2 separate regions of the Homo sapiens genome follow, and region 2 is linked to region 1. The links are contacts of gene promoters, found by promoter capture Hi-C in blood cells and fetal thymus (Javierre and others, 2016). All regions are on one chromosome and are shown on one strand. The core of a region is centred on a gene start or on the middle of the fragment in contact, and the rest is flanking DNA. Distances in the headings are between cores, read along the strand shown. Region 1 holds the start of IRAK3 (interleukin 1 receptor associated kinase 3). Region 2 overlaps GRIP1 (glutamate receptor interacting protein 1).

Region 1 (5,988 bases), core at 191-2,690:
GATTTCAATGCTATCAACAGAAAGAGAGAGAATAATCTGCCTCACTAATTTACCACACCCACCTGGCCCCATTCACCAACATTAAACTGGACTAAAAACACTTTTCTTTCTCAAAGTCAGTAACTCTAGGAAATCAACGGGTATAAATACTGTCCACGCCAAAATCCATCTCAAAAAGATCTGATGGGGAAGTGACCTTATCCCTCAAAATCCCTCAAATGCACACTGGAAATCTCGTTTTCTAGAAATCAGACTTTTTTTTTTTTCTTAAGGGCCATAACTTAAAATTACAGAGCTTAAAATATATAAACATTTTTTGTATAACCAGAAGCCCATTGCTACAATTCAAAGACTGTCACCATACTGTTCATCAGTAACAAAGAAAACTCTCCTCTTAGGCCTTCTGCTAGTCCTGGTAAGAAAAATCCTATTTCAGACCATTAAAGCTAAGTTATTTTGACATAATCATGATTCTTTTCAATAAACATTAAACATGACATTGTGGAATATCAAATCTAACCAAAAATGCCTGTACTTAACAAAACGAAGATTTTTGTCCGAATTATCTCTGGCTACACTCAACACTTCCAGCAGGCAGTTGCTCAACTTTCCAATGTCTGCATAAAATACAGTTCTGAAGCCAATTTTTTTAGATTAAAATAAAAAGCCACCCTTTAGCATAAACCTTCATTCAACGAAATTGGGTAAATAAGATTTAATTAAGAAAATTAGGAGCCGCGTTCATTGCAAACCGTAGTTTACTTTAGCATTTCACTTGTAATTAAGTTAGGGGCTTAGGGATGCATTGAAAACACCAAAGGATAAGTATCTCAAAGTTCTAAAAATGTCTCAATACTAAAATGATGTTCTGGGGTGATTTTGCAAGGACCAGAAGACATCATACATTGCGAACCCAGTGAGGGTGGCATCGCGGACGAACAGAAGATGCTTTCACGCTGGTTATCTGTCTTTCCCAGGCCTCGGCTCCCTTGACTTTGCAGCGATACCCAAAATTCTTTGAAAGAGAAGGGAGGGAAGGCATCTGGGTCCCAGGGAGTCTCTGCATCCAACCCAGGAAAGGAGGGGGCCGGCTCCCTGGCGGGAACTTCCCGGAGGCCGCGCCAGCCCCGCGAGGGACCCCAGCCATGCAGGGCGACGCCGAGCGGGCCCCGCGGCGCGCTGGGCTCCCCCGCCGCCCCCGGCCGGTCCCCGCCGACTCACCCAGGCCGCGCCAGCCCAGCGCGCCGTCGCAGCTGTCCAGAACAGCGCAGAGCTCTCCGAGCAGCGCGGGCGGCAGGTCGAACAGCAGCGTGTGCGCCGACAGCGCGCCGCGGGCCCCACAGTTCCCCGCCATGGCTCGGCTGCCCGAGCCCCGGGGACGAGGCGGAGTCCAGGTCCCTGCACGCCTGCGACAGGCCGTTACACAACCGCGGAAATCCTGCTTCCACGACGGCAGCAGAGCCCTAGGAACACGCCGTTCTCCGGTCACTGCAGGGGCGGTGCCCACGTGACGCAAGGCGCGCCTCGCCCGAGATGCCCCTGCGTCCGCCTGGCCAGGCCTGGGGGTTACCCGACCCGGGTTCTCCCTTCGCTGGCTTTGCGCCCCTTCACACCTCTGCGGTGGGGACGGAGCTGCCGAGACAAGCAGAGTGCGAACTGGAGAAAGCCCAGAGCTCAGAGCTCCCAGGAGCCCACCGTGCCCCACGGCTAGGCGGTCTCCTGGTGTGGACGGCTAGCGGTGTCATTACTTCTTACAAAAGTTTATTTTTGAAAGCTTCTCCCTTCCTTCCTTCTTCCCTTCCTTTCTTTTCTTCCTTTTTTCTTTGTTTTGAGTCAGGTTCTCACTCTGTCGCCCAGGCAGGAGCGCAGTGGCGCTATCTCAGCTCACGGAGCCTCCACCTATTGGGCTCAAGCGATCCTCCCACCTCAGCCTCCCGAGTAGCTGGGACCACAGTCGCACGCCACCACGTCCGGCTAATTATTTTTTTTCGTTTTTCGTAGAGAGGGAGTGTCGTTATGCTGCCCAGGCTGGTTTCAAACTCCTGGCCTCAAGCGATCCTCCCACCTCCGGCTTCCCAAAGTGCTGGGATTCGGGGTGTTAGCCACTGTCCCGGACTACTTCTTTTTTATCCTGTCAGAAAAACTATCCATGTTCATCGAGGAACACTTGGAAAACCCAGAAAAAAACTGAAAAAAGAAGATAATCACTCACAACCCCACTCAGCCCATCACACTCTAAAAGTTTTGACACATTTTCCTCCCAACTTTTACTGAATTTAAACAGATAAAAATGTACATATATGGGATTATTATTGGAAAAGATGAATGTAGATACCAACAAGAGAAAAACAGAAAAGACACCAAATCAGCGTAAAATTATGTTCGTTTTCTTCACGAGGCGGCCTCTCCTCCATACACCTACTTGGTTTTAATAAATTTTCTTCCTCATGGGCTTCCTTGATGAAATATCGTTCCATCATTTTTTCCTTCCTCAAAGTGCTTCACACAATCTTCCTTTTTGCCTTCAACATGGAGTTTAAGTAAAATTGTTGTTTTGAAATCTTCACGGAGTTTAAGTAAAATTGTTGTTTCAAAATCTTCTAGGTCACATGAGGCATGTTACCAGTGACAAAAAGTTGTTTTGAAAGTGGTGAGAAAAATCTCAGCCTTAGTGACTGGAAGAGTGGGCAGTGGCCATCAAGTGAAAACACCAGAGGTGTTTTGAAACCTCTCAGATTGTAGTCTTTGGAATAGCTGCCCCTAGAGATCACGAGTGATGAAACACTATCATTTCATGCCCCTACCTGAATGGTTTTGCCAGCGAAAATACTTCATAAAAATGTATCTGAAAACTGGCAAAGCCCATACTGTGTGGGCAAGAATTTCGATATCCCGTTGTTCAAGGTTTTATTGTCAATCTGTACACACTGTACACCTACCTACCTTCCTTCCTTCCTTCCTTCCTTCCCTCCTTTCTTCCTTCCTTCCCTCCTTTCTTTCTTATTTGTTTTTTTTAGTCGCTCTGATTGCCCAGGTTGGGGTGCAATGGTGCGATCTCGGCTCACTGCAACTTCCACCCCCTGGGCTCAAGCCATCCTCCCACCTCAGCCTCCAGTACAGCTGGGACTACAGGTGCATGCCACCATGCCTGGCTAACCTTTGTAGTTTTTGTAGAGACGGGGTTTTCCCATGTTGCTCAATCTGGTCTCAAACTCCTGGGCTCAAGTGATCCACCTCCCTAGGCCTCCCAAGGTTCTGGGATTACAGGCATGAGCCACCACACCCGGCCCTCTATACATCTCTTAAAGGGACTACCTGAACATGCTGAGCAACAGAGGCAAAAGGCCATTAATTATTTGGTAGCTTTTGAATTGCTACTACAGGGAGGCAAACTCACTCAGAGGAAACAGGAAATCACTGCAGATGAGGGAAGCAATCAGAAAGGCCTGCTTTACCAGATCTTGTAATTTACCAAGAAGCAAGGATCCTAAGTGAAAGCTAGAGTATGTGAAATTTCCTGTATTTTCAGTGTTGGCAGTCGTTCTCAGACCATGTTGCCTTCCTATTCCTAAAACTGTCTTGAGTTTTGATTTTTATATCATCAGGTTGTATCATCATGGTTGCTATCAACTGCTGATCTCCCCGACTCCAATTCCTTCTCCTCGTTTTTAGACTCTCTAGCTCCTGGCTCATTGTTGCTCTCTCCAGTACTAATCCTATCTTAGTTCTCAGTGATTTAAAATATATGTAGAATAACTATTCACAATAGCAAAGACATGGAATCAAGCCAAATGCCCATCAATGATAGACTGGATAAAGAAAACGTGGTATGTATACACCATGGAATACTATGCAGCCATAAAAAGGAATGAGATCATGTCCTTTGCAGGGATAGGGATAGAGCTGGAGGCCATTATCCTCAGCAAACTAACACAGGAACAGAAAATCAAATACTGCATGTTCTCACTTATAAGTGGGAGCTGAACCATGAGAACACATGGACACTTGGTGGGGAACAATGCATACTGGGGCCTGTCAGGGGAGGGGGTAGGGGGAGGCAGTGAATCAGAAGCAATAGCTAATAGATGCTGGGCTTAATACCTAGGTGGTGGGATCATCTGTGCAGCAAACCACAATGGCACATATTTACCTATGTAACAAACTGCACATCCTGCACATGTACCCTAGAACTTAAAATAAAAGTTGATGAAACAAAATTAAAACATACACACACACACACACACACACACACATATATATATATATATATGTAGAATAGATGGTGATCTTTCCAATGCCCTGGCCTCTCATTTCCTTGACTCCTCTTCTCTGGTGACATTGTACTCCACCCAATGCTCCATTTCAGACACTTACTCCCATGAGCGTCCCCTAGAATTTGTCATTATCAATAGCTGCATCCCATCTATAATTTCTTTCATGAATCCACTCTCTGATCATACCTCCTGTCTTTCTAGCACATTCCCTCTAGTACTCTGACCCCAACAATCCTGTCCCTTCACCAGATATCCAATCCAAAATCTTGCTGCCTCTTTTCTGGCTCCACCCTCTTGACATCCTGACTTTTCTGCTTATCCATTAAGTCTGTGGTCAATTATTTTATTCACTCCTTTGCATATGCTCTACATTCCCTTGCTCCTCTCTCACTTTGTTGAGCTCTCTTGGCAAGTTTGCAATTCTGATTAAATCCAATTTTCTAAGTTGGCTCCACACCCATGCACCTGAGTGTAGCTGGGGAACGGGGTGGAAAACCAAAATCCTGTTAATTGAACTCAATTTAAAATCAAGGCCAAGACTCTCAAGTGGGTCCTTTATGCCACTGGACAAGCATACTATGCACCTTTAGCCCATGCATTCTTCTGGTCTCCTTGAAAGCTATGCTATACTTTCTTTTTTCTCAACTCCCATCATCCTGTCCTCCACCAATTATCTTGAGAATATTTATTGAGAATACTGATGCATCAGGAAAAAACTTCCACGGAATCTCACTACTACATCGAACTATCTACTAGCATCTTTGCCAACATACTCTTTCTTCGTGTTTTCCATGGATGAATTATCTAGGGTCCTATGTAAATCATTATACTTCGTTTGTGCACTGGATCCTATCCCTATTACCATTTCAAAGGCATCAAGGGCACATGCTTTCCCTGGTCCCTGTTACATGATCAGTTTTTCACTCTTTACCACCTCAATTCCATCAGCATACAAATATGATGTTGTTTCTTTCAACTTAAACCAAAATTTTTTTAAATTTTATTATTATTATACTTTAAGTTTTAGGGTACATGTGCACAACGTGCAGGTTTGTTACATACATATACATGTGCCATGTTGGTGTGCTGCACCCATTAACTCATCATTTAGCATTAGGTATATCTCCTAATGCTATCTCTCCCCACTCCCCCCACCCCACAACAGGCCCTGGTGTGTGATGTTCCCCTTCCTGTGTCCATGTGTTCTCATTGTTCAATTCCCACCTATGAGTGAGAACACGTGGTGTTTGGTTTTTTGTCCTTGCGATAGTTTGCTGAGAATAATGGTTTCCAGTTTCATCCATGTCCCTACAAAGGACATGAACTCATCATTTTTTATGGCTGCATAGTATTCCATGCAAACCAAAATTTTTGATGCCACTTCCCCCTTCTGTCTTTGGCCCCAATTCTTTGCTCCCCTTTGCAGTGTCGAGCTGAATATTCTCACTGTGTCCAATGTTCTCCTCCCATCTTCTCTTAAACCAACTCTAATTAGAAGCACCCCTCCCACTTTACTCCACTAAAACTATTCTCTTCAGGGTCACACATGTCCACATCATTGCTACGTAAAATAATTAATTTCCAGTCCTCACTTACTTGACCTATTGGTAGTTTTGATACAGTTGATCACCCCCTCCTTGGAAACTTTCTTCATTTGACTTCTAGGACACCACATTCTCTTATATTTTTCACTTACCTCATTGATCACCCCACA
Region 2 (5,988 bases), core at 1,567-4,066, 200 kb before region 1:
AAGTGTAACATTCAGAAAGGAAAATCACACAACAGCCCGACAGCCCGGAGCAAAGCAAGCTGGTCACTGGCATCATTGAAGACAGGAGAACTGATCAATGACACCTACCTCAACATAAGAATTTTAGTGGTCATGGCACATCTGTCACTCATTTTGCGCTTACAGTTTACCGAGATCTCAAAGTCTTGTGAATGTGTTTTTTTTTCTTTACCCGTGATATTCAGTTAAACTGCATCTCTCCAGATTGTGCTTGTGAGGTTGACTTTTTAAAAGCAAGGCACAGCTGGGTGCAGTGGCTCAGGCCTATATTCCCAGCACTTTGGGAGGCTGAGGTGGGCAAATCACCTGAGGTCAGGAGTTCAAGACCAGCCTGAGCAACGTGGCGAAACCCCATCTCTACTAAAAATACAAAAACTAGCCAGGCGTGGTGGCACACACCTGTAATCCCAGCTACTCGGGAGGCTGAGGCAGGAGAATCGCTTGAACCAGGAGGCGGAGATTGCAGTGAGCCAAGATCATGCCACTGCACTCCAGCCTGGGCAATAGAACAAGACTACGTCTCAAAAAAAATTAAAACAAAAATAAAAGCAAGGCATAGAACCACACTTTTATTTTTCCTATTCAATATTATGTTGTGAGATACAGCTTATCTCTCCAACCTGTCCCTCCAGCCTCTCAGCAGGCTCTCTGCCTTGTTCCAGGAAGCCCCTGCACATTCTCTCTGTTCCCTTTAAGGCTGTAATAGTTGCCTTGTTCCCAGGAGACTCCATAATGCACATCTTCCTCCTGGGGCTGGAAATCGATGTCTTTGCAGCAACATTCCTTACTGTTCTCTCCTTCTTCTCTAAAATATCAAGCTTGCTCCATTCATTCCTTCAACCAGTATGTAATGACTGGCTCAATATCAGGCCCATAGACCATGTGGATACACTCTTGGACAAAGGAGACATGGTCTCTGCTCCCATGGAAGAGGTTACCCAGCTGAAGGGACAGTCAGTTAACAAATAAACAAACAGTGGCCCTATCACTTCGTTAGTGAAAAGGGAAATAGAATGGAATGACGAAACCTTGTGGGGAAAGAAGGGATATGTTTAAGGAAGTCCCACAAGGGGCTGATTCTCAGTTCCACTGTGTGGCTGACTTCTTCCAGTTGGCCTCCAGGTCAGCTTCTTTCACTCCCCATTGTCTTGCCCATTAGATGCCTCATGCCCTTCTGCCTTATCAAAATCTTAGGCATTTGGCCTCCTTGCATCTTATTAATTCTTCCTTCTAACTCTGAGAAAACCCTATGACTGCTTTACTTGGATTTAGCAAAGGTCAATACAAGAGGAGACTGGCAAATTGGTGGTGGTACATAGACTGCCATGCTCGCGGGCTGAATAGCTCTTGTGCTCTCTGTAACTTTGGACTCTCAACTCAGATAGCTATATTTCTATCTTATTTTTCTCCCTTTTGAGGTCATTTTGATCATTTGTTTTCTCTCAGAAAATGAAATTATTTCATCCAGATGTCAAATGTATTTTATATAATTAATCTCTTTTTTAATTTTTTATTTTCTCAGTTTCTATAATTATATCCATAATATTGTTCCTTAATTGGTATATTTGTGGTTTTATTATTTTCCCCATGATTCGATTAGTAACAGTTTATTTGATTTCTTTGTTTGGTTTTTATTTTTTCCCAGAGAACTGACTCTTGCATTTATTTATTAGTTTTACTCTAGTTTTTTTTTTTACGTACAATTTTACTTTTAATTTTACTCTTTCATTCAGTTCCTTTTAAATTTTATTCCTTTTATGACTTAAGTTGGATGCATGATTTATTTATTTTCATTGCTTTATAAGGATATATTCCTTCTTTGTGTTTTCATAAGGATGATAACTGAAAGGACACCAACATGTGCAGTCAGAGTCCAACTTTATTTAATGTCATTAAAGAATACAAATCATACAGAGGATAGCACAGAGTAGAAACCCAATGGTATCCTCCTCTACTCATTAGCAGGATTTTATTTTTCTCTTTCGTTTCTCTTCTGATCTCTACAAGCTCATGTTTCATCATCATCTTGCCTTGCCCAATTTCTCTAGAGTTCTTATATTTCTGCTTTGATCTCTTGTTTTATAGAGGTGATGGCTTTGCTGTGTATTTTTTAAATTTTGTGATTATTTCTGATTGGTCATGTTTATCATTTGCTCTGAACCAGGCTTTTTCTCATGAGTATTCTTCATCTGCTATCGCTTTGTTTTTCTATGCCTTTGCTCTCATTTGTCTGATATTTACTTGGTATACATGTTATGCCAATTCCTTTTCAATTACTGCTCACCACTGAATGAGATGAGTTCTTCCTGAACTGGAAGCTGCTAGAGGCTCTGTTTCCAAGGTACCAAACACACCCCAGTTCCAGCATGGTATGTGTGAGTAAATTCTTCCCCAGCTACCAGAGAGCAGCAACAGCAGGCTGCTCACAAAACAGAATTCCTCTCTGCTATCCTGCCTCATTGAGCAATTGCTCCCTTCAGTCTGTGACATGTGTTCTCTTTCCCTGACTTTACCTTGATGCCAGATGGGATCACATGTACTTTCTGCCACCAGCCATGCAGTGCATACTGGTGTTCCAAACAAAGCATTGGAGTTTTGCCTCATGCCACCGCCCCTGCTTTGGTAGACTGAGTTGTCTACCAAAGAGTAGTTTGGTAGTCCTGGCCATAGGTGTCTTCTCTCCACTTCTTACCACCACCACCCCCTTCCCATTTGACTTCCACTGGATTTATGTATTATGTATTTTCTTATGTATTATGGTCTGAGATTACATGAACACTCTAGTTGTGATTAAGATGGAGGTTGCATTCTGTTATTTATCATTACTTTTTGTCTTGAGGTGATTTCTGAGAGAAGAGAGAACTGTCTTTGCATTGACATTTAGATCACAGCCTCATCTGAATACTTTGAATATTTCTTGGCAAGATCAATTACAAATAGTTACACAAACATATGATTTGATTTTCTCATCCTTCACAAAACTGGGTCTTTAGAAAACAAATTTGGCAGCGAATTAACTGGCTCTCTTTCCTGTACTAAAATTGGTTTCCAAGAATGAAAGTAATGGCAAGAGCTACAGTCCCAAAATTGTTGAGATGAAAATTGAATTCTATTTTTTTTTCTTTTTTTGTTTTTTGAGACGGAGGCTCGCTCTGTCACCCAGGCTGGAGTGCAGTGGTGCGATCTCAGCTCACTGTAAGCTCCGCCTCCCGGGTTCATGCCATTCTCCTGCCTCAGCCTCCCGAGTAGCTGGGACTACAGGCGCCCACCACCACGACCAGCTAATTTTTTGTATTTTTAGTAGAGATGGGGTTTCACTGTGTTAGCCAGGATGGTGTTGATCTTCCTGACCTCGCGATCCACCTGCCTCGGCCTCCCAAAGTGCTGGGATTACAGGCGTGAGCCACAGCGCCCGGCCGAAAATTGAATTCTAAACTTTATGAATATGAACCCACACTGATTAGTTCACTTTTCTAAATTAATGCTGGGTATGAATTAAAAGCTACAAATATTAATCTGTATTAGTACAGAAAACCAAATATTACAAGGTTGGAATGTTAGAATTTTACAAATATCTAAGGCATAGTTACCCTAAAAATAAAAATCATCCTATCAAGATTCCATCTACTTTCAGAAATACCTACTTTGCTGTTTTCCACTTGTGCAAATAAAGACCTATTTTTTATGAAGACCTGTTTTCCATTATGCAAATAAATAAAACTAAACATTAATATCAGTGAAAGGAATCTGGACTAAATTTTATACCTCCTATTAGGATACAAAGTATAAGATCAGATATGGAAACCCAGATGTAAAATAAAGAAGGAAAGAAGAAAAAGTTGCCAATTCTAAACCAAAGGAGGCCAGGCATGCAGGCCCACATCTGTAATCCCAGCACTTTGGGAGGCCAAGGCAGGCAATCACTTGAAGTCAGGAGTTCGAAATCAGCCTGGCCAACATGGTGAAACCCTGTCTCTACTAAAAATTCAAAAATTAGCTGGGTGTGGTGGTGTGTGTCTGTAATCCCAGCTACTCAGGAAGCTGAGGCAGGAGAATTGCTTGAACCTGGGAAGTGGAGGTTACAGTGAGCCAAGGTCATGCTGCTGCACTCCAGCCTGGGCGATAGAGTGAGATTCTGTGTCTAAATAAATAAATAAATAAATAAATAAATAATCCAAAGGAGAAATGACTTAGGACCATACATTTTATTTATTTTTTATTATTTTATTTTTTGAGACCGAGTTTTGCTTTTATCACCCAGGCTGGAGTACAATGTTGCGATCTTGGCTCACTGCAACCTCTGCCTCCCAGGTTCAAGTGACTCTCCTATCTCAGCCTCCCAAGTAGCTGGGACTACAGGTGCCCACCACCACGCCCAGCTAATTTTTATGTTTTTAGTAGAGATGGTGTTTCGCCATGTTGTCCAGGCTGGTCTTGAACTCCTAACCTCAGGTGATCTGCCCGCCTCAGCCTCCCAAAGTGCTGGGATTGCAGGCATGAGCTACCGTGCCCTGCCTGAGCCACCGTGCCTGGCCAGTACATTTAAAAAACATTATTTCTTTTTTCAACTTATTTATTTTATCAATTTTTAATTTAAAATGTAGTTTCCAATATTATATGTGTATTTCATGTGCTTACACCATCATTCAACAACAAAAAAAATTTCATTATCTATCTGGCAGTTGATTTTTTCTTACGCCTGGGCTGCCTCATTTATTCCCTGGCTTTTAAGCTTGACTCCTGGTGTAAAGGAATATTCCTCAGAGCCTGTTAACTTTTTATCAGTAATGGCAACAGGTTTGCCTTTTACCTAAACATAATTTTCCTCAGATATTCCCTCTTTTAAATCATGGTATCACCAGCCAGCTGTATCAGTTAAAGGTCAAGTTTAGCTGATTTGAAGATTTTCTTCTACATACGAAACAAAATTTAAGTGATGGCATTTAAGCAACATCAGGATTTATTTTTCCCATGGTGTCATCAGGACCCAGGTATCTCACTCCCTCTACTCACTTAGCATCTCTGATGTCCCTCCATTGCCACTGCCTTTGTTTCAGGCCTGATGAAATATGGTAACTCCTTCCTCACTTATCTTCTTACTTTGAGCATCTTTTCCCACATTTCTATCTATAATCTTTAGCAAAACCAAATCTAGTCATGCCACTCCCTTAAACCAAAAAAACCCTCTTTTGATGGTTATCTATTGTTATAGGATAAAGTCAAAGGTCTTCAGTTTAAAACACAGGGTTCTTTGTAATCTAGTCCCCAAATACTTTGTCAGTCCATCTGCTGACACTTCCTTGCAGTACCTTTTAGTACACATACCCGGAATATCTCACAATTCTCTAAGCAAGCTTTGCATTTTGGTATCTTGATAACACTAGGTATTTTGATATGTTAATTAACCTCTTAATCGGTTTCAAATCCATTGAGAAATAGAAATGAGAGTCAGCTATGGATTAAAATATCAGCATTTCATTTTATTTTTTTGCTAGAAAAAGCTGGATTGGTCCTGCAGCCAGAATCAGGATAATTATTTTCCTACCCTCAACCCAAGTCTAGACATTTAAATTTAAATAAGACGCAAGTCAGATCTACACAGCAAACCATAACTGAACTGGTTACCAATCAATGAGATTAGGTTCAGCTGAAGAGAACTGAAAACTCTAATAATACATTGACTTACATTATAAAGAAACAGGCACTTCGAGCTGGTATGTAACTCCACAGTGTCATCAGAGGCCCATGCTTCTAAATATTTCGGCTCTGTTTTGCTTAGCACTTGACTTTCATCCTTGGGGTCACCTCATAGTCCAAGACAGTTACTGGGGCTCCAGCAATTTCATTTGCATTCCAGACAGCAGTAGCAAAGATGTAAGGAGCCTTCTCAGAAGTCCCCTTAGCTACGTCATTGACCAGAACATTTCACTAAGTTGCACTTAGCTTTGA

What was found. The method cuts DNA at HindIII sites, captures the fragments that hold promoters and counts their contacts. A CHiCAGO score of 5 or more calls a contact.
Region 2: a contact is called between a fragment that was not itself captured here and the fragment with the promoter of IRAK3 in region 1, in 1 of 17 cell types (neutrophils). The highest score is 5.3, in neutrophils.

Annotation. Positions count from the first base shown.
Region 1 is chr12:66,184,666-66,190,653 of GRCh38, reverse strand. IRAK3 (interleukin 1 receptor associated kinase 3) reads right to left here and starts at 1,440. Exons shown (of 12, transcript NM_007199.3): 1 at 1,222-1,440. The coding sequence starts at 1,354. RefSeq lists silencers at 1,106-1,265, 1,286-1,335. The HindIII fragment of the contact is 2,960 bases long and covers 1-1,776 here.
Region 2 is chr12:66,383,821-66,389,808 of GRCh38, reverse strand. The region is part of intron 19 of GRIP1 (glutamate receptor interacting protein 1); the gene reads left to right. Among named protein-coding and RNA genes, the nearest start is that of HELB, 84 kb to the right of the region's middle. The HindIII fragment of the contact is 3,914 bases long and covers 860-4,773 here.